Regions from separate parts of the Homo sapiens genome. Here regions 1, 2 and 3 are each linked to region 4. The links are contacts of gene promoters, found by promoter capture Hi-C in blood cells and fetal thymus (Javierre and others, 2016). All regions are on one chromosome and are shown on one strand. Each heading gives the region's core, a stretch centred on a gene start or on the middle of the fragment in contact. The rest is flanking DNA. Distances are from core to core; before and after follow the strand shown.

What was found. The method cuts DNA at HindIII sites, captures the fragments that hold promoters and counts their contacts. A CHiCAGO score of 5 or more calls a contact.
Region 1: a fragment that was not itself captured here is called in contact with the fragment with the promoter of RHEBL1 in region 4 in 4 of 17 cell types (monocytes, M0 macrophages, erythroblasts and 1 more); the score reaches 8.2 in monocytes.
Region 2: a contact is called between a fragment that was not itself captured here and the fragment with the promoter of RHEBL1 in region 4, in 1 of 17 cell types (M2 macrophages). The highest score is 5.6, in M2 macrophages.
Region 3: the fragment with the promoter of RND1 here is called in contact with the fragment with the promoter of RHEBL1 in region 4 in 2 of 17 cell types (non-activated CD4 T cells and activated CD4 T cells); the score reaches 6.1 in non-activated CD4 T cells.

What each region holds. Positions count from the first base shown.
Region 1 is chr12:49,253,343-49,258,719 of GRCh38, reverse strand. It overlaps a transcript of TUBA1C not described here. Among named protein-coding and RNA genes, the nearest start is that of TUBA1C, 9.1 kb to the left of the region's middle. RefSeq lists an enhancer at 1,543-2,260. The HindIII fragment of the contact is 2,741 bases long and covers 1,202-3,942 here.
Region 2 is chr12:49,274,416-49,279,335 of GRCh38, reverse strand. It overlaps TUBA1C (tubulin alpha 1c), which reads right to left. Exons shown (of 4, transcript NM_032704.5): 4 at 4,736-4,920. Among named protein-coding and RNA genes, the nearest start is that of TUBA1C, 12 kb to the right of the region's middle. RefSeq lists an enhancer at 1-453. The HindIII fragment of the contact is 319 bases long and covers 2,722-3,040 here.
Region 3 is chr12:48,864,229-48,869,087 of GRCh38, reverse strand. It overlaps RND1 (Rho family GTPase 1), which reads left to right and starts at 3,218. Exons shown (of 5, transcript NM_014470.4): 1 at 3,218-3,440; 2 at 4,218-4,305. The coding sequence starts at 3,321. RefSeq lists enhancers at 2,895-3,024, 3,285-3,404. The HindIII fragment of the contact is 16,374 bases long and covers 1-4,859 here.
Region 4 is chr12:49,068,611-49,073,959 of GRCh38, reverse strand. It overlaps RHEBL1 (RHEB like 1), which reads left to right and starts at 3,981. Exons shown (of 8, transcript NM_144593.3): 1 at 3,981-4,226; 2 at 4,854-4,925. The coding sequence starts at 4,175. RefSeq lists enhancers at 3,538-3,587, 3,958-4,267 and a silencer at 3,818-3,937. The HindIII fragment of the contact is 17,864 bases long and covers 1-5,349 here.

The DNA.
Region 1 (5,377 bases), core at 1,323-3,822, 190 kb before region 4:
ATGATAGCTCATGCCTGTAATCCTAGCACTTTGGGAGGCCAAGGCGGGCTGATCACCTGAGGTCAGGGGTTCGAGAGCAGCCTGACCAACATGGCGAAACCCCATCTCTACTAAAAACACAAAAATTAGCCAGGCGTTGTGATGCACACCTGTAATCCCAGCTACTTGGGAGGCTGAAGCAGGAGAATCGCTTGAAATAGGGAGGTGGAGGTTGCAGTGAGCCCAGATCACACCAGTTCACTCCAGCCTGGGCAATAGAGCGAGACTGTCTCAAAAAGAAAAACAAAAAACAAAACATAAATAATTTTTATAAAAACAAGGTCTCACTCTGTTGCCCAGGCTGCTCACAAACTCCTGGGCTCAAGTGATGCTCCCTCCTGGGCCTCCCAAAGTGCTGGGATTACAGGTGGGAGCCACTGCACCCAGCTGACCTAGGACATTATTGTATACTACTGTAGACTTTATAAACACTGACACTTAGGCTACATTAAACTTGAAAACATGTTTCCTTCTTCAATGATAAATTAACTTTAGCTTACTGTAGCTTTAAAAATTTGTAAGGCCAGGTGCTGTGGCTCATGCCTGTAATCCTAGCACTTTGGGAGGCTGAGGTGGGCGGATCACTTGAGGTCAGGAGTTCACAATCAGCCTGGCCAACATGGTGAGACCTCACCTCTACTAAACATAGAAAAAATTAGCCGGATGTGGTGGCACATACCTGTAATCTCAGCTACTTGGGAGGCTGAGGCAGGAGGATCACTGGAACCCGGAAGGCGGAGGCTGCAGTGAGCCAAGATTGTACCACTGCACTCCAGCCTGGGCAGTAGAGTGAGACTCTGCTCAAAAAAAAAAAAAAATTGTAAACTTTTTTTTTTTAAACTTTTTGTCTCTTGTAATAACACAGCTTAAAACACATTGTACAGCTGTACAACATTTTTTTTGAAACAGGGTCTCCCTCTGTCACCCAGGCTGGGGTGCGCTGGCATGATCACGACTCACTGCAGCCTCAACTTCCTGGGCTCAAGCAATCCTCTCGCCTTAGCTTCCTGAATAGCTGAGGTTACCGTGTGCGCCACCATGCTTGGCTAATTTTTTGTATTTTTTGTAGCGAGAGGGTCTTGCTGTTGTCCAGACTGTCTCAAACTCCTGGCCTCAAGTAATCCTCCCACCTTGGCCTCCCAAAGTGCTGGAATTACAAGCTTGAGCCACCTCGCCTGGCCTGCAAACGTAAAATTAAAAAAAAAATAAATGCCTCTTCCTGCCCCCATTCCTCAGCCCCTCCACTGCTAGTACCAGTATCTGCATGCTAGGTGTTCATCCCTGGACTGAGGATTTTAAATGCTTTAACTTATTTATTCTTCACGATAATCCTATGAGGTAGACACTATTGTTACCTCCATTTTACAGGAGAGGAAATGGAGGCTGCCTGGCTTTGGGAACTGCCCTGAGGTCACACAGCAGCGCATGTTGCCTTCAGTCCAGCCTTCTTTGGAATCCCAACCCTTCCCTCAGGAGGTTGGCTTTAAGGCCTTCATTTCTAAACCACTGTCTTCTTTTTTTTTTTTTTTTTGAGATGGAGTGGCTTGATCTGGACTCACTGCAACCTCTGCCCCCTGGGTTCAAGTGATTCTCTTGCCGCAGACTCCCAAGTAGCTGGGATTATAGGCGCCCACCACCATGCCGAGCTAATTTTTGTATTTTTAGTAGAGACGGGGTTTCATCATGTTGGCCAGGCTGGTCTCAAACTCCTGATCTCAGGTAATCCACCCGCCTCAGCCTCCCAAAGTGTTAGGATTACAGGCGTGAACCACCGCTCCTGGCCTAAATTACTGTCTTCTCTCCAAGAACATTAATATAGAACCACTTTTATATCTACAACTTTAATTACATGTTTATTTCCCCAAATCATCAAAATCTGCAATGTCCCCAAACCCCTCAGGAGATTCAGTGAAGGAAGGAGGCTGGAACAGGGTTCTAACAGATGAGGGTCTGCACTTGCAGGCCTCTGTTTTTACAACACTTTGCTGTTTTTGATCCTCTAGTCCATATACCTTTTTCCTTACCCTCCAGCATATTTTGTTCCAATGGAGTCAGGAATATAAGCCCTTTAGAACCCCTGAAAGTTCTTTGTGTGTTTCTGATAGATAAAGATTTCCTCATTTTAAAGTACATAGTTCTCTGTTTTGGTCAGTTTCAGTCCCCACTGACCTTGTAAATGGGTGATACGGAACAGCCTGTAACTACAAAATCGACTTCTTATCCAGTTCCCTCAGCTGCTCCATTTATATGTACGGAACCCAAGGGACAGAGCTGGGTTCACACACTGTGGAAAAGAAAAAGAAGAAATAATTTTTGTTCAAAACAAAGAAACAAATTTTAAATTCACGCTGTTCTTTCTCTTTACTCTGCACGAAATGACTGATAATAAACCAAAGTTGTTTCAGAGGAAAAAAAAATTATCCTGGAACAGAGATCACCTGACAAGCTACACAGCCTGTTTCGCTGATGCTCACTTGCTCAGTTGCATTGGGGGTTTCATGGCCTTTGGTCAAGGCCAGGAGGGCCTAACCCCAAGCACACTAGTTTCTTTTAGTGTTGTTCGTTTGTTTGTTTTTGAGACAGGGTTTCACTCTCTCACCCAGGCTGGAGTGCAGTGGCACCACTGTAGCTCACTGCAGCCTCAACGTCCCAGGCTCAGGTGATCCTCCCACCTGGGCCTCCCAAGTAGCTGGGACTACAGGCACGTGCCACCACACCCACTGGCCTCAGCCTCCCCAAATGCTGGGAATACAGATGTCAGCCACCACGCCCTAGCCTCAAGCACATTGCTATGGAAGCCTAAAAAGATAAATCTGGCTGGGCGTGGTGGCTCACGCCTGTAATCCCAGCACTTTGGGAGACTGAGGCCGGCGGATCACGTGATGTCAGGAGTTCCAGACCAGCCTGGCCAACATGGTGAAACCCTGTCTCTAATAAAAATATAAAAATTAGCCAGGCGTGGTGGCAGACGCCTGTAATCCCAGCTACTCCAGAGGCTGAGTCACAAGAATGGAGAATCGCTTGAACCTGGGAGGTGGAGGTTGCAGTGAGCTGAGATTGCGCCACTGCACTCCAGCATGGGTGATAGAATGAGACTCAGTCTCGAAAAACAAAAAGAAAAGACGAATCTACCAGGTAGAGTGGTTCATGACTGTAATTCCAGCACTTTGGAAGACCAAGTGGGTGGATCACATGAGTCCAGAGGTTTGAGACCAGCCTGAGCAACATAGCAAGACCTCTATCAGAGAAATATATATATATATATATATATATATTTTTTAAAGATAAGTTCAGCTGCTGGGGAAAGTGGTAGTTGGTTTCTTAGCAAGCAACAGAATCATTTTGACCTTTAAAGACAAGGACAAGATAAAATACAAAGGGAAAAGCACTGCAGAGTAAGGAAAGTAAAGATTAGAATAACAAAATACTGAATTAGACTATTCACTGTAAACTCTCAGAGCCATTATAATTACTAGGAATTCTGGCTTATAGTGTGATTAAATAGAGTAACCTTGGCAAGGTCCGTAGTTGTATTTTGGGTGAGTTTCTCCATCTGCATTTGGTGTGAGGATAAGACTTGCTCTAAAACAGCCTGAGGTCAGGTGCAGTGGCTCAAGCCTGTAATCCCAGCAATTTGGGAGGCTGAAGTGGTAGGATCACTTGAGCTCAGGAGTTTGAGACCACCCTGGGCAACACAGAGGGACCCCGTTTCTACTTAAAAAATAAAAAAAAAATATATGTGTTTTGCCTCTGCACCAAGTTCCTGACACAGAGCTCCTAAATCCTTGGAACTTCCTGGGTGATGGGAGCATCTTTTGTACTAATGAGGGTCTCTTGGTGTCTTGCTGGATAGCTTCAGGATAGGGTCTGGTCACCAGAAAGACAAAGTCATGACTAGAAGCTTGAAAATTTAGCCACATCCCCCATCCTCCAGGGAGGGGAGAAGGACTAGGGATTGAGTTAAAAACTGATCATGCCTACGTGATGAAGCCTCCATAAAAATCCCTAAACTACCGGGTTCCCAGAGTTCCAAACTGGTAAACAAGAACATATCCACTTGCAGGAGGGTTGTGCACCCCAGCTCCACTACACTCAAAGGACAGAAGCTGCTGCACTCAGGAGCCTTCCATACCTCACCCTATATATATCCTCATTTGACAATTCATTTCCCGTTTTTTTTTTTTTTTTTTTTTTTTGTTTAGATGGAGCCTCGCTCTGTTGCCCAGGCTGGAGTGCAGTGGCATGATCTCGGTTCAATGATGCAGCTTCCACTTCCCAAGTTCAAGTGATTCTCTGCCTCAGCCTCCTGAGTAGCTGGGATTACAGGCGTGCACCACGACACTCGGCTAATTTTTTCTTTTCTCTTCTTGAGATGGAGTTTCACTCTTGTTGCCCAGGCTAGAGTGCAATGGCATGATCTTGGCTCACCGCAACCTCCAGCTCCCGGGTTCAAGCGATTCTCCTGCCTCAGCCTCCCGAGTAGCTGGGATTACAGGCATGCGCCACCACGCCCGGCTAATTTGGTATTTTTAGTAGAGACGGGGTTTCTCCGTGTTGGTCAGGCTGGTCTCGAAATCCCGACCTCAGGTGATCCGCCTGCCTCGGCCTCCCAAACTGCTGGGATTACAGGCGTAAGTCACCGCACCCGGCTCCCCTTCCTGCTTTTATCCTGTCTTCTATCTCTGTAGGGCTCCCCGTCCCTGATTTTATTAATACTAGTCCTATCCACCTGTGCCCCAGTTCTGTATTCCTGCTCACAGTCTCTGGGATCTTGCTTCATAATTTAACCCTTTTTCTTGACCCTTCACTTTCTTTTGTTTAGACAAATTGGGACTGAACTCTAGTTTCAGTACCAGTTTGAGTTACTGTTCAAATAAAATTATAGGCCACTTTGGGAGGCAGAAGCAGGAAGATCGCTTGAGTCCAGGAATTCAAGACCAGCTTGGACGACATAGTGAGACCCTGTCCCTACAAAAAAATTTAAAATTAGCATGGTGTGGTGGTACATGCCTGTAGTCCCAGCTACTGGGGAGGCTGAGGTGGGAGGATCGCTTGAGCCCAAGAGCTCAAGTTAGCCATGTTGGTGCCACTGCACTCCAGCCTGGGCAAGAGTGAAACCCTCTCTCAAAAATAAAATGAGTATCCCCTCCCCACGCCCCCTCCCTTCATGATTTCAATTTTAAGCATCCCACCGTCCAACCACAACCTCCCACTTTTTAGCTCTACGAAACCAGTACCCACAACCCTTCTACCTAACTGGGACTTACAAGACATTGACACGCCCACGTGTGCACTGTCCTCTATTCCGCTACATCCTCAGGTCTCCTTCCATAGCTTC
Region 2 (4,920 bases), core at 1,632-4,131, 210 kb before region 4:
CGGCCAGGTGCGGTGGCTCACGCCTGTAATCCCAGCACTTTGGGAGGCCAAGGCAGGCGGATCACAAGGTCAAGAGTTCGAGACCAGCCTGGCCAACATGGTGAACCCTCAGCTCTACTAAGAATACAAAAATTAGCCAGGAGTGGTGGCGGGTACCTGTAATCCCAGCTACTCAGGAGGCTGAGGCAGGAGAACTGCTTGAACCCGAGAGGCGGAGCTTGCAGTGAGCTGAGATGGCACCACTGCACTCCAGCCTGGGTGACAGAGCAAGACTCTGTATTGGAAAAAAAAAAAGAAAGAAAGAAAAACAAACAAAAAACTGGAGATGATTGCCAGAATAGTATAATTGGATTACCTTTGCCAAGGGCATTTCAGTATTTGTTTACTCTTGGACTAGACATCTCTTGGAAGCCAAATGAGATATTTGATAAAAATAGAGAAGTGTGGCCGGGCGCGGTGGCTCACGCCTGTAATCCCAGCACTTTAGGAGGCCGAGGCGGGCGGATCACGAGGTCAGGAGATCGAGACCATCCCGGCTAAAACGGTGAAACCCCGTCTCTACTAAAAATACAAAAAATTAGCCGGGCGTAGTGGCGGGCGCCTGTAGTCCCAGCTACTTGGGAGGCTGAGGCAGGAGAATGGCGTGAACCTGGGAGGCGGAGCTTGCAGTGAGCCGAGATCCCGCCACTGCACTCCAGCCTGGGCGACAGAGAGAGACTCCGTCTCAAAAAAAAAAAAAAAAAAAAAAAAAAAATAGAGAAGTGTGCAGAGAGGGTGAAGGGAGAGAGAGTGGGGTTGAATTTATACCCACCCTCTTCCATGAGTTAAACTAATTTCTGTAGACAAAATCTTTGTGTAATTAGGAAATCTTTATATTCTGTAAAACCTTTATAGTCTGTTCCAATTAAAAAAAAAAAAGGCCAGGCGCGGTGGCTCACGCCTGTAATCCCAACACTTTGGGAGGCCAAGGCGGGCGGATCACAAGGTCAGGAGATGGCCAACATGATGAAACCCTGTCTCTACCAAAACTACAAAAATTAGCTGGGCGTGGTAGTACATGCCTGTAGTCCCAGCTACTTGGGAGCCTGAGGCAGGAGAATCACTTCAACCCGGGAGGCGGAGGTTGCAGTGAGCTGAGATCACACCACTGCACTCCAGCCTGGCGACAGAGACAGACTGTCTCAAAAATAATAAATAAATAAATAAATAAGAGAGAGAGAGAAAAAAAAGTCCAGTAGGGAGACGACTGTTTAAAAGCATTTTTTGTATTATGACTAAAGCAGACATGTCTCTAGTTCTGGAAGGTTCATTGATTCTGACTATTGCTCTCCTGCTGTAGACTCGGAGGGAGTGTAGAGGAGGAAAGAACTGTTTTCCCAAAACCTGCTTGGGGCTGACAATGACAAATTCAGGGGCACTAGGTTCTTGGCATGAAAGGGGCAGTGACAGGCTAATGAGATGTCAGCAAAGGGGACCTATTTCACGGGGCGAGGGCCCACTCCTGCTCCACAGCCCCCACACCCAAGGGTCTATTTTCTCTTCAGCTTCTGCTGCCTTGTGTCTCCTAGATAGTCGCCCTGGCATTGGGCTCCTGGAGCCATCTGCCTGGGTCATCTCTGCCAGCTTCACCTTGCCGCCTCAGCTGACGGGCACTGACCACTCTGGCCCTGGAGCATAGAGGAGCGAGGCTCCAGGTGTACACTGTCCTGCCTGTGCCTCAGCTGGTGTCCCTGTTGGCAGGAGACCAGGCAGGTGGCAGCAGCCATCCTGCAAGGGCACTGTATCTCCCCGTGACCTGAGAACTGAGTTCAGAGGGAGGCCTGGACAAAAATGCCCCCTCACTAGGGAAGCTACAGCCTGGACATGGGGACCAGCTGGCTTTGCTATTTAAGGTCAATGGGCTGCCACCTGGGCCCAGGAACGGGGCTCTTGGGAGGTTTTCTGACAATCACTGGCATAATGAGATCTCTCTGTGACTACAGCTCCATCCAGTGCTCATGTGAGGGCTGGCCCTTGTTGACCTCATGCCCCAAGGGTCCTGGGAGGTGGCACTATCCCCCCAGGACTGGAAAGGCTGCCAGGTGCAGAGCCGATTTCCTCTGGAGCTCCTCGATGGCTGGACGACAGAGTGGAGTCAGCCTAGGCTTTAGAGCCAGAGCTCTGCGGTAAAATTTCAGTTCTGCCACTCATTCTGTAGCCTTAGGCTAGATATTCAATCTCTGTGAGCTATGGAAGTGGGTATAATAACATCACCTCCCAGGGTACTGTGGAAACTGTGAAGGCACCTTTTCCTCCCACCCTGACAGCGCCTCCCCTGACCTCCTTCAGCCTCACCCAGGACTGCCACACCACCTTCCAGCAGAGGCCTGAAGACTGATTTGTAATTGCATAACCCACTTGGCCATCCTCTGGCCTGACAGATTCCTGCTGGAGAAGAGTCACTTGCCAGCTGCTTCCCAAACACAGAATGACAGGTGGACAGGCAGGCCCTTAGCCCCTCAAAGTCATTATCCCCCTTCTCATCCCTGCCCAAAACACCTCTGCCCAGACATGCTAACCTCTCAGTGGTCAGCGGCCTCTGTGGGGGGAAGCAGGTTGCTCCTCTGGCCAGGTTAGGTGAGGGCAGACTAAGCCCTCTGTCCACACAGCCGGACCTGGGGCTGCCGCCAGCCTCAGGAGCCCGAATCCTCTTAGGCTGTGTGCATTTATTCCCATCAAGCTTCAGCGGCCTCAGCATCAGCATCAGTCGCAGCTCTGGGTCCAGACTTTCCATTCGTGCTCAAGGGCAGATCAGATGATTGTCAGCCACAAAGCAGTGACCTAGACCTTGGGGTATATTTGTTCTTGCTGCAGGCTAACTTCTATTCACTCTCCCTCCAACGCAGGAGGGGGAAATCATCTTTACAAGGACAAATGCCCCCCCAACCACTGGCACTTTGCTCTTCCAATTCCCCAGGCTTTATTCTACTGGAATATTTCTTCTCAGCTAAACTTTTCTCTCACCTTCTTTCACCCCAGACCTCTGTGGCTGCTTAAAGCTTTCCAACCTTTTTCACATCTTGGCACATGTAGAAAATAATTCATCTGTAAGGTGTACAGAGGTAAATGGAGGGGGCTACTCCTGGCCAGGGTGACTGGCCCCAGGGAGGATGGGTGAGTCAGGCTCTCCAGTTTCCACCATGTCATTCTAAAAGCCGAAGGGATCCTATATGGGCACCCTGAATCCTATTCTCAGGGCACCCTGCTTGGGAAATGCTGGTGTCATGGGGTGTCACACTCGCCTAAGCTTTGTGATTTATCTGCTCCTTTTCATACACGGGTGTCCCATTCCCATTTCCTCCAGTGCTTGCACTATGGCAATCAGCAGATCTCCTGGCCTGGGAAGGTCTCAAAATCCCCTCTGGCAGGCTAGCCAGCGTCTTCAAGGTTCACCTTCATTTCAGGCATCCCACCCCGCTCCCCTGCCCAGGCTGCAGGAAGAACCTGGCTCATCTGAGAAGTAGCAGTGGCTGAATTTGTGCTGGGGTCTTACCTTGCCCCGAAGGACATAAAACTATGGTTGCTCTCGACAAATGCTATATAAAACCATCCAGAGCACATAGTTGAGGCATCTCAGGCTGCAAAAGCATGCTGTGCTATGCACGCAGGTATAATATATACATTTAAAAAAATTTGAGACATAAAAAAAAATTTAAGGGAAAAAAATTTTTTGTCCCTTAGGCTGGAGGGCAGTGGCACGATCTCAGCTCACTGCTACCTCCACCTCCCAGGCTCAAGCAATCCTCCCACTTCAGCCTCTCAAGCAGCTGGGACCACAGACGTGCACCACCATGCCCAGCTAATTGTTTGTATTTTTAGTAGAGATGGGGTTTCACCATATTGCCCAGGCTGGTCTTGAACTCCTAAGCTCAAGTGATCCACCTGCTTCAGCCTCCCAAAGTGCCGGGATTACAGGCGTGAGCCATGGTACCCGGCCAAAAAAATGCTCAAAATAGACAGGGTCTCACCCTCTTGCCCAGGCACTGGTCTCAGACTCTTGGGTTTAAGCAATCCTCTCACCTTGGCCTCCCAGAGTGCTGGGACTGCAGCTGTGAACCCCAGCGCTGGCCTTAAACATGCACATCTTTCAGATGCAATTCTCAGAGCAAAGGGGCTAAAGTGAGCAATGGGTAAGGGATACAAAACACCTTTGGGAAAGAGATGGTAACTGGGTACACATCAGAATAAAGTAAGTCACGGAGGAGAGGTGAGTATGCCTGCAACTCTGCCCCCAGGGCCCATCTGCTACCACTCATTAGGCATTCCCACTCAGGCAAGCACCCAAGCACCAAAACTGATTCCTCCCTTCTGCATGAAGCTTCACCTTTTGGTCATTGTCCTTTCCCATTGCTTAGTTCAACTGAGTACCAGGCACCAAGCTCTCCAGCTACGTATAACACTCATGCCCCTTCACCCGTCTGCCCCCAAGAACCACGGTCCTCCAACAGGTGCTTGGAAAAAAGTCCAAATCAGAGAACTCACCCCTCTCCAATCTTTCCTACACATACATATTACTCCTACTTCAAATAATCTCCATGACATACAATTGGGTCAAATGCCAATACCAGAAAAACCGGTGACTGTTATTTTGTCTGACATTTCCACTTTCTCTAAACAATAACCCCTTTAGTACGAACCATCTTTGCCACTGTAGGTCTTAGCTAAGTATGGAATAAATCAGGATTCCAAGCCCTTCTCGTGTGACTAATACTTTATTAAAGACTGACAGCAATAGTTCTGGCAGTGTGGCTGGGCACTTGAATTTTGGCTCCAGCAGTTACTGTTATCTAACCCTTTGCTACTGTACATGTGGTCACATCAGACCAACAGCATCATTTGGGAGGTTATTAAAAAACGTATCTAGGGGCCAGGTGTAGTGGC
Region 3 (4,859 bases), core at 1,969-4,468, 200 kb after region 4:
CTTTGGGAGGCCGAGGCAGGCGGATCACAAGGTCAAGAATTTGAGACCAGCCTGGCCAACATGGGGAAACGTCGTCTCTACTAAGAATACAAAAATTAGCTGGGCATCGTGGCACGTGCCTGTAATCCCAGCTACTCAGGAGGCTGAGGCAGGAGAATCGCTTGAACCCGGGAGACGGAGGTTGCAGTCAGCGGAGATTGTGCCACTGCACTCCAGCCTGAGCAACAGAGCAAGACTCTGTCTCGGAAAAAAAAAAAAAAAAAAAGAGGATGCATAGGAACTCTACTGATGCTTCCAGAACTAAGCCCAGATGAGACTGAAGGTAGGGGACAGGAGGATACAGAAGGAGAAGGTCAGGCTGAGGGAAAGGACTCCAGATTGAGGCAGTCTATGATCTTACAGCTGTTCCTGGAACTATCCCAAACCCCACTTATAGACAGCTCACAGAGGCTGTCAGGCTGCTGGAAAAGGGCAAGAAGAGGACAAATTCTATCCACAGAACATTATCTGAGGGTGGAGGATGAGGGGAGATAAAGGGCAGAAACCTTCAGAAAGCCTGGGAGAGACGGCAGCCAGCTAATGGTAACATCTGGCCTTTCCACCCTGAAGTTTCCCTCAGGCCATTCCCCATCCCTGGAAGTGAATGGAGCTTAGGACATGGGTGGAGAGCAGGTATAGGCCTTGGCCCCAGAGCCACGACGAGGTTTGACTGGAGGAACACTGGTTAGGCTGTATTCTCAAAACAACATCCACTCTCCTACTGCCTGTGGTGGGCACTAGAAATCTCATTCTTAGAGATCTGTCCCTTTGGGTCTGTGAAAGGCTTTCAAGCATCCTTTATCACAGGGAAACTATCCCTGGGTGGGGCAGCAACAACTGTGAATTAAGAGTAAAGCTCAGGCTGGGGCACAGTGGCTCACGCCTGTAACCCCAGCACTTTGGGAGGCCGAGGCAGGTGGATCACCTAAGGTTAGGAGTTTATGACCAGCCTGGCCAACATGGCGAAACCCCATCTCTACTCAAAATACAAAAATTAGCTGGGTGTGGTGGCAGGCACCTGTAATCCCAGCTACTCGGGAGGCTGAGGTAGGAGAATCGATTGAACCCGGCGGGCACAGTTTGCAGTGAGCCGAGATTGTGGCACTGCATTCCAGCCTGGGTGAAAGAGCAAGACTCTGTATAAAAAAAAAAAAAAAGTAAAGCTCAGATGAAACAAGGCCCAGGAGACACTGGGCTTGACAAGGGAAAGGGACTACTCTCAATTTTGCCCAAAGTTGGTCTTCCTTCAATCACAAATCTCCAGGAGCCCTTATTTGTACGGTCTTGATTCCTGGACAATCAGTGGTTTATTTAAGCTGTGGACAGCCCATAGTTCTGTCTAGTAGAGGCTCCCCAAAATACAGGGGCCCCATCAGTCAGGGCTGTTAAGAAGTTATGAAGCTCGGCTGGGCGCGGTGGCTCACGCCTGTAATCCCAGCACTTTGGGAGGCCGATGTGGGTGGATCACTTAAGGTCAGGAGTTTGAGACCAGCCTGACCAATATGGTGAAACCCTGTCTCTACTGAAAATACAAAAATTAGCCAGGCATGGTGACGTGCGCCTGTAGTCTCAGCTACTCGGGAGGCTGAGACAGGAGAATTGCTTGAACCCGGGAGGCAGAGGTTGCAGTGAACTGAGATCAAGCCACTGCACTCCAGCCCGGGTAACAGAGCGAGACTCCATCTCAAAAAAAAAAAAAAAAAAAATTTATGTAGTTCATCTCAACCTTAGATTGTCCTCCAGCTTCTAATCCCAAAATCCTGGGCCCAGTCTGGACTTTAACCAGGTGACACACATTAGTGCGTCAGTTTCAGTGGGCGTTAACATGGAACTGGACCTGTGCCTGATTCATCCAGGAAGCTGAGCCTAGGCCGCAGAACAAACACCCCTAAGCAGCTTCTGCTAGGCATGGGTGAGAGGCTGTCTGGCCAAACAGTGACTGTGTTTGCTTTGTCTTCTTCCTCTCTCCCACCCCCACTTGCCAGAGTCCCTCATTTCTCTCTGCCCATCACTGGGTCAGGTGCTGTGTGTTTTTTTTATGGATGACTCTAGAAAGTTTTCTCTTTCTCTTTCTCTCTCTCTGTCTTTGGTGGTGAAGGTGATTCTTGAAGAAGAGAAGGCTTTAAAAGGGGCACAGGCCGGGCACGGTGGCTGACGCCTATAATCCCAGCACTTTGGGAGGCCAAGGCGGGCGGATCGCCTGAGGTCGGGAGTTCGAGACCAGCCTGACCAACATGGAGAAACCCCGTCTCTACTAAAAATACAACATTAGCTGGGCATGGTGGTGCATGCCTGTAATCCCAGCTACTCGGGAGGCTGAGGCAGGAGAATCGCTTGAATCCGGGAGATGGAGGTTGCAGTGAGCTGAGATCGTGCCATTGCACTCCAGCCTGGGCAACAAGAGCGAAACTCCATCTCAAAATAAATAAATAAATAAATAAATAAATAAATAAATAAATAAATAAATAAATAAAAGAGGTACAGCAGGAGCTGATATTGGGAGGGGAAATAAAGGGAAGTAAGAACTGGTTTGGATGGGAATTAGAAAAAACAAAAAAGTCAGACATCAGGCCAGGCGCTGTGGCTCATGTCTGTAGTCCCAGCACTTTGGGAGGCTGAGACAGGCGGATTGCTTGAGCCCAGAAGTTCAAGACCAGCCTGGATAACATGGTGAGACCCCTGTCTCTATTTAAAACAAAAGATGTAAGGAAAAAAAAGAAAAAAAATGTCAGAGAAGTTCTGGGCCACCTCCCCCATCCCCTACTCCTCCAAAACACACACACACACACACACCTGTCTATAGTCTAAGCAGGTCCTGCTTTTGTAACCCACCCGGGACAGTCCCTGCAACTCCAGCCTGACCTCACTTCCTGCTTCCATAGCTAGTTTGTTTTTCTGACACTTATTGGTAGACACTCCAGATCATTTCATTTTGCTTCCAGTACCCTTTCCACTTCCTAATACAAATGCAAAACAACCTGGGAATCCCCTTTCAGGGGGAAACAACGGTGCAGCTTTAAGAGAAAGAGAAGGGAGGAAGGGGGCGCTGACTCAGATCCTCAGATCCATTGGCTGCTGGAGGGAATCCCACCTCAGGGATTGGGCGTAACAGAGTCCGCCTCCTCTTGTGATTGGCTCAGCCAGAAAAATAAAAGGCGGCTGTGCCGGCCTCCTCCTCAGTTGGAGGGAGGCAGGGAATCTGGCTTGATTGGCGTGCTGAGACGCACCTGGCGCAACCCTCCCTTCTGAATCGAAGTTCAAGTCCCGCGGACACTGCAACCATGAAGGAGAGACGGGCCCCCCAGCCAGTCGTGGCCAGATGTAAGCTCGTTCTGGTCGGGGACGTGCAGTGTGGGAAGACCGCGATGTTGCAAGTGTTAGCGAAGGATTGCTATCCAGAGGTGAGCTGCCCGCCCGCCCGCTGGCCGGCTTTTCTCCCTGCCTGCCCGCCTTGGGGTAGATTTCCACCTGCTCAGGAGACGTGGCTCCCCCAGCCCCAGCCCATCCTCAGCCGCTTTCTGAGGCTTTACCATCCTCAGCTGCTTTTTGGCTGGAGGACTGCCCTGCCTTAGCTTCCCCTGAGACCTGTTCCACTTCTGCCGCCCCGCTGGCTCCTCCTCACCTCTTCACCCAGAGGACCCATCAGATCCCCTCCACCTTCCTGCGTCCCTGGAGTCTGCTCTCAGGTGAGGGCACTGGAGGCATTTGAAAGTCTGGGGTTTCTTCTTGACGTAATCCCTGCCTATCCGCTCACCTGCTCCTCAAAGGCTCTATGCCTGTGCCTTCAGGCAGGCTTCTGCAGCCCCTCTGTTCACCTGGCCGGGAGGGGTTTGAGAGGAGATGAGCTAGGATTGGCTTTGGCCTGTGGCTCTCTCAAATTGGGAAACACAAATCTGGGGATGGGAGGAATCTGTGTGTGTGTGTGTCCCTGATCGCCTAGGATATGGGGGGCTTACCCCTGGTGTGGTGGTGTGGGGGGGTGTCATTCACATTTCTCACTGCTGCAGAGCAAAGTGCCTGGTCCTCCACAGTCCCTTCCCTCCTGCCCCAGGCATCTCCTCTGGTTTCTTGTCTCCTGTGACTTTACTGTCTCTCTGGTGAGTGCGTGTGTAGCCAGCACTAACCAGGGGATCTGAGGGTAGGGGTGCATGGGGTGAATGTTTCCTCTCTTTTCACAGACCTATGTGCCCACCGTGTTCGAAAATTACACAGCCTGTTTGGAGACAGAGGAACAGAGGGTGGAGCTTAGTCTCTGGGATACCTCAGGTAAGAATTCTGCTCCAAATACCCCTTTCCCACCCCTACTGGTCTGCTGTGTAGCTGCTGTCTTTTAGAAATTGTTTTCCCCTTTGGTGGGGAGAAGTGAAAAAAGAGGATCTGAAGACTCATTAGTTGTGGGGAGGGCTGACAGTTGGTGGACTCAGTTGCATGGTCCAAGGGTGCAGAGTGGGTGAACCCCAGGAGCCACTCTCTTCCCTGGGTCTGGTTCCACCCTTTAGAGGGCTGGGATGGTGAGGTGAAGGGACCCATGAATAGTCCTGGGGGTGGGCAGTAAAACAGGACTTCTCCATTTCCATTCCCTACCACCCAACATGCACGCGTACACACATGCACACACACGCGCGCGCGCGCACACACACACACACACACACACACACACACACCTTTTACTTCCCCAGAGCAAAGCCAAATAAGAGGCAAGAGGCAGTGCTGCTGGAGGCAGCGTGGTTGGGGCGGAGAGACAAGTCTGCTTTGGGGAAAGGTTGCTCAGACTCAGTTTTGTCTCCTGCATTCCATCTTGGGCCACTGCTGTCCTCCTG
Region 4 (5,349 bases), core at 2,732-5,231:
TCTTGGCTCACTACAACCTCCATCTCCCAGGTTCAAGTGATTCTCCTGCCTCAGCCTCCCGAGTAGCTGGGATTACAGGTGCCTCCCACCATGCCCGGCTAAATTTTGTATTTTTAGTACAGACAGAGTTTCACCATGTTGGTCAGGCTGGTCTCAAACTCCTGACCTGATGATTCACCTGCCTCAGCCTCCCAAAGTGCTGAGATTACATGTGTGAGCCACTGTGCCCGGCCTATGCATTACTTTTTAAAGTGATTGATATTTAATGAACAACTATTTAATCAACCAATATCTTGGTCCTAAAATGTGCAGGTTTTATAGATTGGCTCATGAAACATTTATTTTTTTGTTTTTTTGGAGATGGAGTCTCGCTCTGTTGCCCAGGTTGGAGTGCAGTGGCGTGATCTCGGCTCAGTGCAACCTCCACCTCCCAGGTTCAGGCGATTCTCCTGCCTCCGTCTCCTGAGTAGCTGGGACTACAGGCATGCACCACCATGCCTGGCTAATTTTTCTATTTTTAGTAGAGACGGGGTTTCACCATGTTAGCCAGGCTGGTCTCAAACTCCTGATCTCAGGTGATCCGTCTGCCTCAGCCTCCCAAAGTGCTGGGATTACAGGCGTGAGCTACTGTGCCCGGCCCCAGCTAATTTTTTATATTTTAGTAGATACCGGGTTTCGCTGTGTTGCTCAGGCTGGTGTCGAAACCCTGAGCTCAGCTCAGGCAATCCACCCGCCTTGGCCTCCCAAAGTGCTAGGATTACAGGCGTGAGCCACCGTGCCTAGCTTCTTTTTTTTTTTTTTTTTTTTTTTTTTTTTTTGATACAGGGTCTTTGTTGTCCAGGATGGAGTGCAGTGGCACAAACATGGCTCACTGCAGCCTCAACCTCCTTGGGCTCAGGTGATCCTTTCACTTCAGCCTTCCAAGTAGCTTGAGACTACAGGCACGTGCCACCATGCCCGGCTAATTTTTCTTCTTTTTTTTTTCTGTATTTTTTATAGCAACAGGCTTTTGCCATGTTGCCTACCTAGGCTGGTCTCGAACTCCTGAGCTCAAGCAATTCACCTGTATGGCCTCCCAAAGTCCTGGGATTACAGGCCTGAGCCACCACGTCAGGCCAAAACATTTATTTATAATCACATTGTCTTTTGCCTTCCTTTACTATAGACATTGGAAAAGAAAATGCTAAAATTTCCAGGTTCCCTTACAACTAGAAATGACTATATAAAACAATCTTGTTCAATGAGATGTAGGTGAATATCTGCTGTGAGAGCTTCCCTTACCAGGTAAAAAGAAAAAGTCACAAGAGGAGAAAGCCCTTTGCCTTGGCTCTTTTGCTTTCTCTCTGATTCAAAACAGGAGAATTCAGATGGTTTAATAAAGAGACTATTTACAAAGATGTGGGCAGGGTATAGGGAGACCACAACAGATAGAGCAATGCCCCAAGGTGAATAACAGAAAAGAGGCTGATACTGCTATAGGCATAAAGGCTGAGGGGAGTCACTGAAAACCAGGAGAGAGCTGTGTGTGTGTGTGTTGGAGGAGGCAGCTGCCTTGAGAGGTACTGTGACCTTCAATGGGGGACAGAGCCACTCTCCTCTGTCCATTGAATCTTCTGTGTGTGCTTTCCTTTGGCTGAGCTTCACTGAAAGCCAGGAGACAAGGTCTGCCTCCTGGACATAAATCTGGGTGGAAAAGAATGGAGAGTTCATATGGACGGGACAAGCAGTATAAAAGGCATCTGTTATTTATTTCTGTATCCTAGTGTGCAACACATAGTAAGAGTGCCTGGCACAAAGTAGAAGATGAATATATATATATATATATATATATATTTTTTTAAGATGGAGTCTCACTCTGTCTCCCAGGCTGGAGTGCAGAGTACAATGGTGCAATCCCGGCTCACTGCAACCTCTGCCTCCCGTGTTCAAACGATTCTCCTGCCTCAGCCTCCTGAGTAGCTGGAATTACAGGCATGCACCATCACGCACGGCTAATTTTTGTATTTTTAGTAGAGACGGGGTTTCACTATGTTGGACAGGCTGGTCTCGAACTCCCGACCTCAAGCGATCCGTCCACCTCAGCCTCCCAAAGTGCTGGGATTACAGGCATGAGCCACCATGCCCGGCCTAGGGCTTTTGTGAATATTAAATGAGATAACAATAAAATGCACCTGGCACATAGTATAGTCGAACTCTCTATAAATCTAGGTGATTTCCTTCCTTTCTTCCCTCCTCTACCAATCCTTCCACAAGTCATTTTAACCTTAGCTTCAGAATATCCTGAATTCTCAACTTCATTCAACATGATCACTCTAGTCAAGCGCTCTCATCTCTCACCTGGACTACAGGTAACAGTTTCCTCGCCAATCTCCCTGCTTCCTTTTGCTCCTGTTACCCTCAAACCCCAATCTATTCACTACAGCCAGGGAGATTTTTTAGAAAGACAATTTAGATCATGTCATGCCCCAGCTTAAATACCTTCAAGTACTTAGAATTAGCCCAGACTCCTTTATGTGGCCTGGCCTCTGCCATTCTCTTAGACTTCATCTGCTTTAGGCTAACTGGCTTTCTTTTTTTCTTCCCCTCTTCCTGGAATTTACCCAATTTATTTCCATCTTAACGCCTTAGCATTGGTGGATTCTTCTTGTGAAATCTCCTAGTTGGTTCCTTCAGATCTTAGTTTAAATGGGGTTTCCTATGAGAGAAAGTATCACTAAAGTGGTCATCTCAGCCAGGCTCGGTGGCTCACGTCTGTAATCCCAGCACTTTGGGAGGCCGGGTCAGGTGGATCACTTGAGGCTAGGCGTTCGAGACCAGCCTGGGCAACATAGCAAAACCCCATCTCTCCCCAAAATACAAAAATTAGCCAGTCTCATAACCCTGTCTCAAAATAAATAAAGAAAAAAAATTAAAAATGCTGTATTGTCTTTAAAAAATAAAGTGGTCGGCCGGGCGCGGTGGCTCACGCCTGTAATCCCATCACTTTGGGAGGCCGAGGCGGGCGGATCACGAGGTCAGGAGATGGAGGCCATGCTGGCTAACACGGTGAAACCCCGTCTCTACTAAAAATACAAAAAATTAGCCGGGCGCGGTGGCGGGCGCCTGTAGTCCCAGCTACTCTGGAGGCTGAGGCAGGAAAATGGCGTGAACCCGGGAGGCGGAGCTTGCAGTGAGCCGAGATAGAGCCACTGCCCTCCGGCCTGGTAGAAAGAGCGAGATTCCGTCTCAAAAAAAATAAAAATAAAAATAAAAAAATAAAAAAAATAAAGTGGTCATCTTTCATCACACCATCTTCTACAGCACTTAACACTCTCTGATATTTCCTTGTTGTATGTTTGTTTCTCCCTTCATAAGAGCAGACACATTGTCTGTGATGTCCATGTTCTGACCCCAAAGCTGGAGCAATGCCTGAAACATGTAGTATATACTCAGTATTTGTTGAAAAATGAATATTTGAGGATCATGATGATGAAGAAGAAACCTCAGACTACTTGATCATAAATTCTAGCAATTTCTGCAAGAATAAGAATTGCAGTTTGAAATTAGATGCTGGAAGACTGGAAACCTTGATAGGTCTGGGGCTGAAGGCTGGGGGAAGCAGAAGGAATATACTAGAACTTTGGCGGTTTTCTCCCTATCTAAGGACCCCAGAGACCATGCAAAAGGGAGGGCTAGAATCTTATGACCGGAAACCACAAAACGGGTATTTTCCATCCATAATTCTTCGAAGCCACTTCAGCTAGGCTGTAAATGCGCAAACGCCTTTAGGACCCCGGGTTCCTTTCTGTTTCTTTATGAATGAACCGGCTCCAGTCTGCGCACGCGCAGCTCCCAGTTCTCCCGCTCCACGTGAGGCCCACCCTTCCCTCCTGCTGGCGGCACCGCCCTTACCCATTCTAATGGACCAATGGCGAGCGGCCTGGGGGGCGGAGCCCGGCGCGGCGCGGCTCAGTAGTTCCCCGGGCGCCCGGCTCCCTGGCGTTAGACGTGCTGTGTTGTGATCACGTGGGCAGCTCCGGGCGCGGCGCTTGTTTTGGTTTCCTTCTAACTTGCCCACGGCAGCTTCGGGGTGAGCGACTTTCCTGCACCAGCTGCCGCGCCTGCTCACACCCTGACCTCGTTTTCGGGCTCTCTGAGCCCGCAGTTCCGCAAGCCCCTGGGGCGGGCTCCTGCCATGCCGCTAGTCCGCTACAGGAAGGTGGTCATCCTCGGATACCGCTGTGTAGGTGAGTCTCCGCCCTGCAGAGCTCGGACGCGCAGCAGCTTTGTAGCCAGAAGAGGCGCGCTGCCGTGGGAACGCGACCCAGGGAGGAATGATGACATCGTAAGGATGGGGTTGTAGAGCGAGGATTGGAAGAGTGGAGGAATGGAAGAGTGGAGGATTGGAAGAGTTGGTGGTGTGTGGAGGCTGCAGGAAGCGGGAGCACTTAAGGGTTAATGCGGACCTGGCTGCGGGAATCTCAGAGTGGTCCCAGCGTTACTTTGGGGATAGGGGTGGGGTCACAATTTGAAAACCGGGACGCGGTCTCCGTGGGGACAGATAGTCGCAGGTGTCCTGGGGCGGGGCGGACTTGATCCTAGGGAATCTTGGATCTTCCTACGAGTGGGATGGGGTGGGGAAGGCGGCGGGAAAGGCTTCCTGCTGCGCTTCTGAATGCATCCGGTAGCCAAAGTGCGGAGACCCTGGGTGAAAAGAGGGTGAGGGTAGACACAAAGGATAGCATTGCTTGAGGCACTCACAGACTGTGGTGTTAATTTGGGGTCTCCTTTGGTCCTGGGCCACAGTCCGAAAGGACAGAGGATGTGAATGTGGATGGATGATTTGGATACAACTGTCACACTGCTCCCCACAGGGAAGACATCTTTGGCACATCAATTTGTGGAAGGCGAGTTCTCGGAAGGCTACGATCCTACAGTGGAGAATAGTGAGTAGACTTCTCCCCTAGTGTGCTGGTGGTATGCGACCCGGAGGGCTTGGATACCCCACCCAACTCCATAATTTATTTCTCTGGTGCCAAGGGGCTGATTTATTTAGACATTACATCTGATTTCTTCTTTAGCAATCCTGTTCGATGGATGGCTAGAGTATGGATTTTGCAAGATATTGAGTCTGGGATAGTTTAGATGTAGACATTAAGAACCTTAGCGTGTCTTTCCAGTTACCTGGATAACTCCCTGGAGCTGATCTATCTGTGTCACCCCCAAGGTTAAGAATGTAAGGGGAGGCTGGGCGCAGTGGCTCATGCCTGTAATCCCAGCACTTTGGGAAGCTGAGGCGGGCGGATGGATTGAGGTCTGGATTTCGAGACCAACCTGGCCAACATGGTGAAACCTCATCTCTACTAAAAA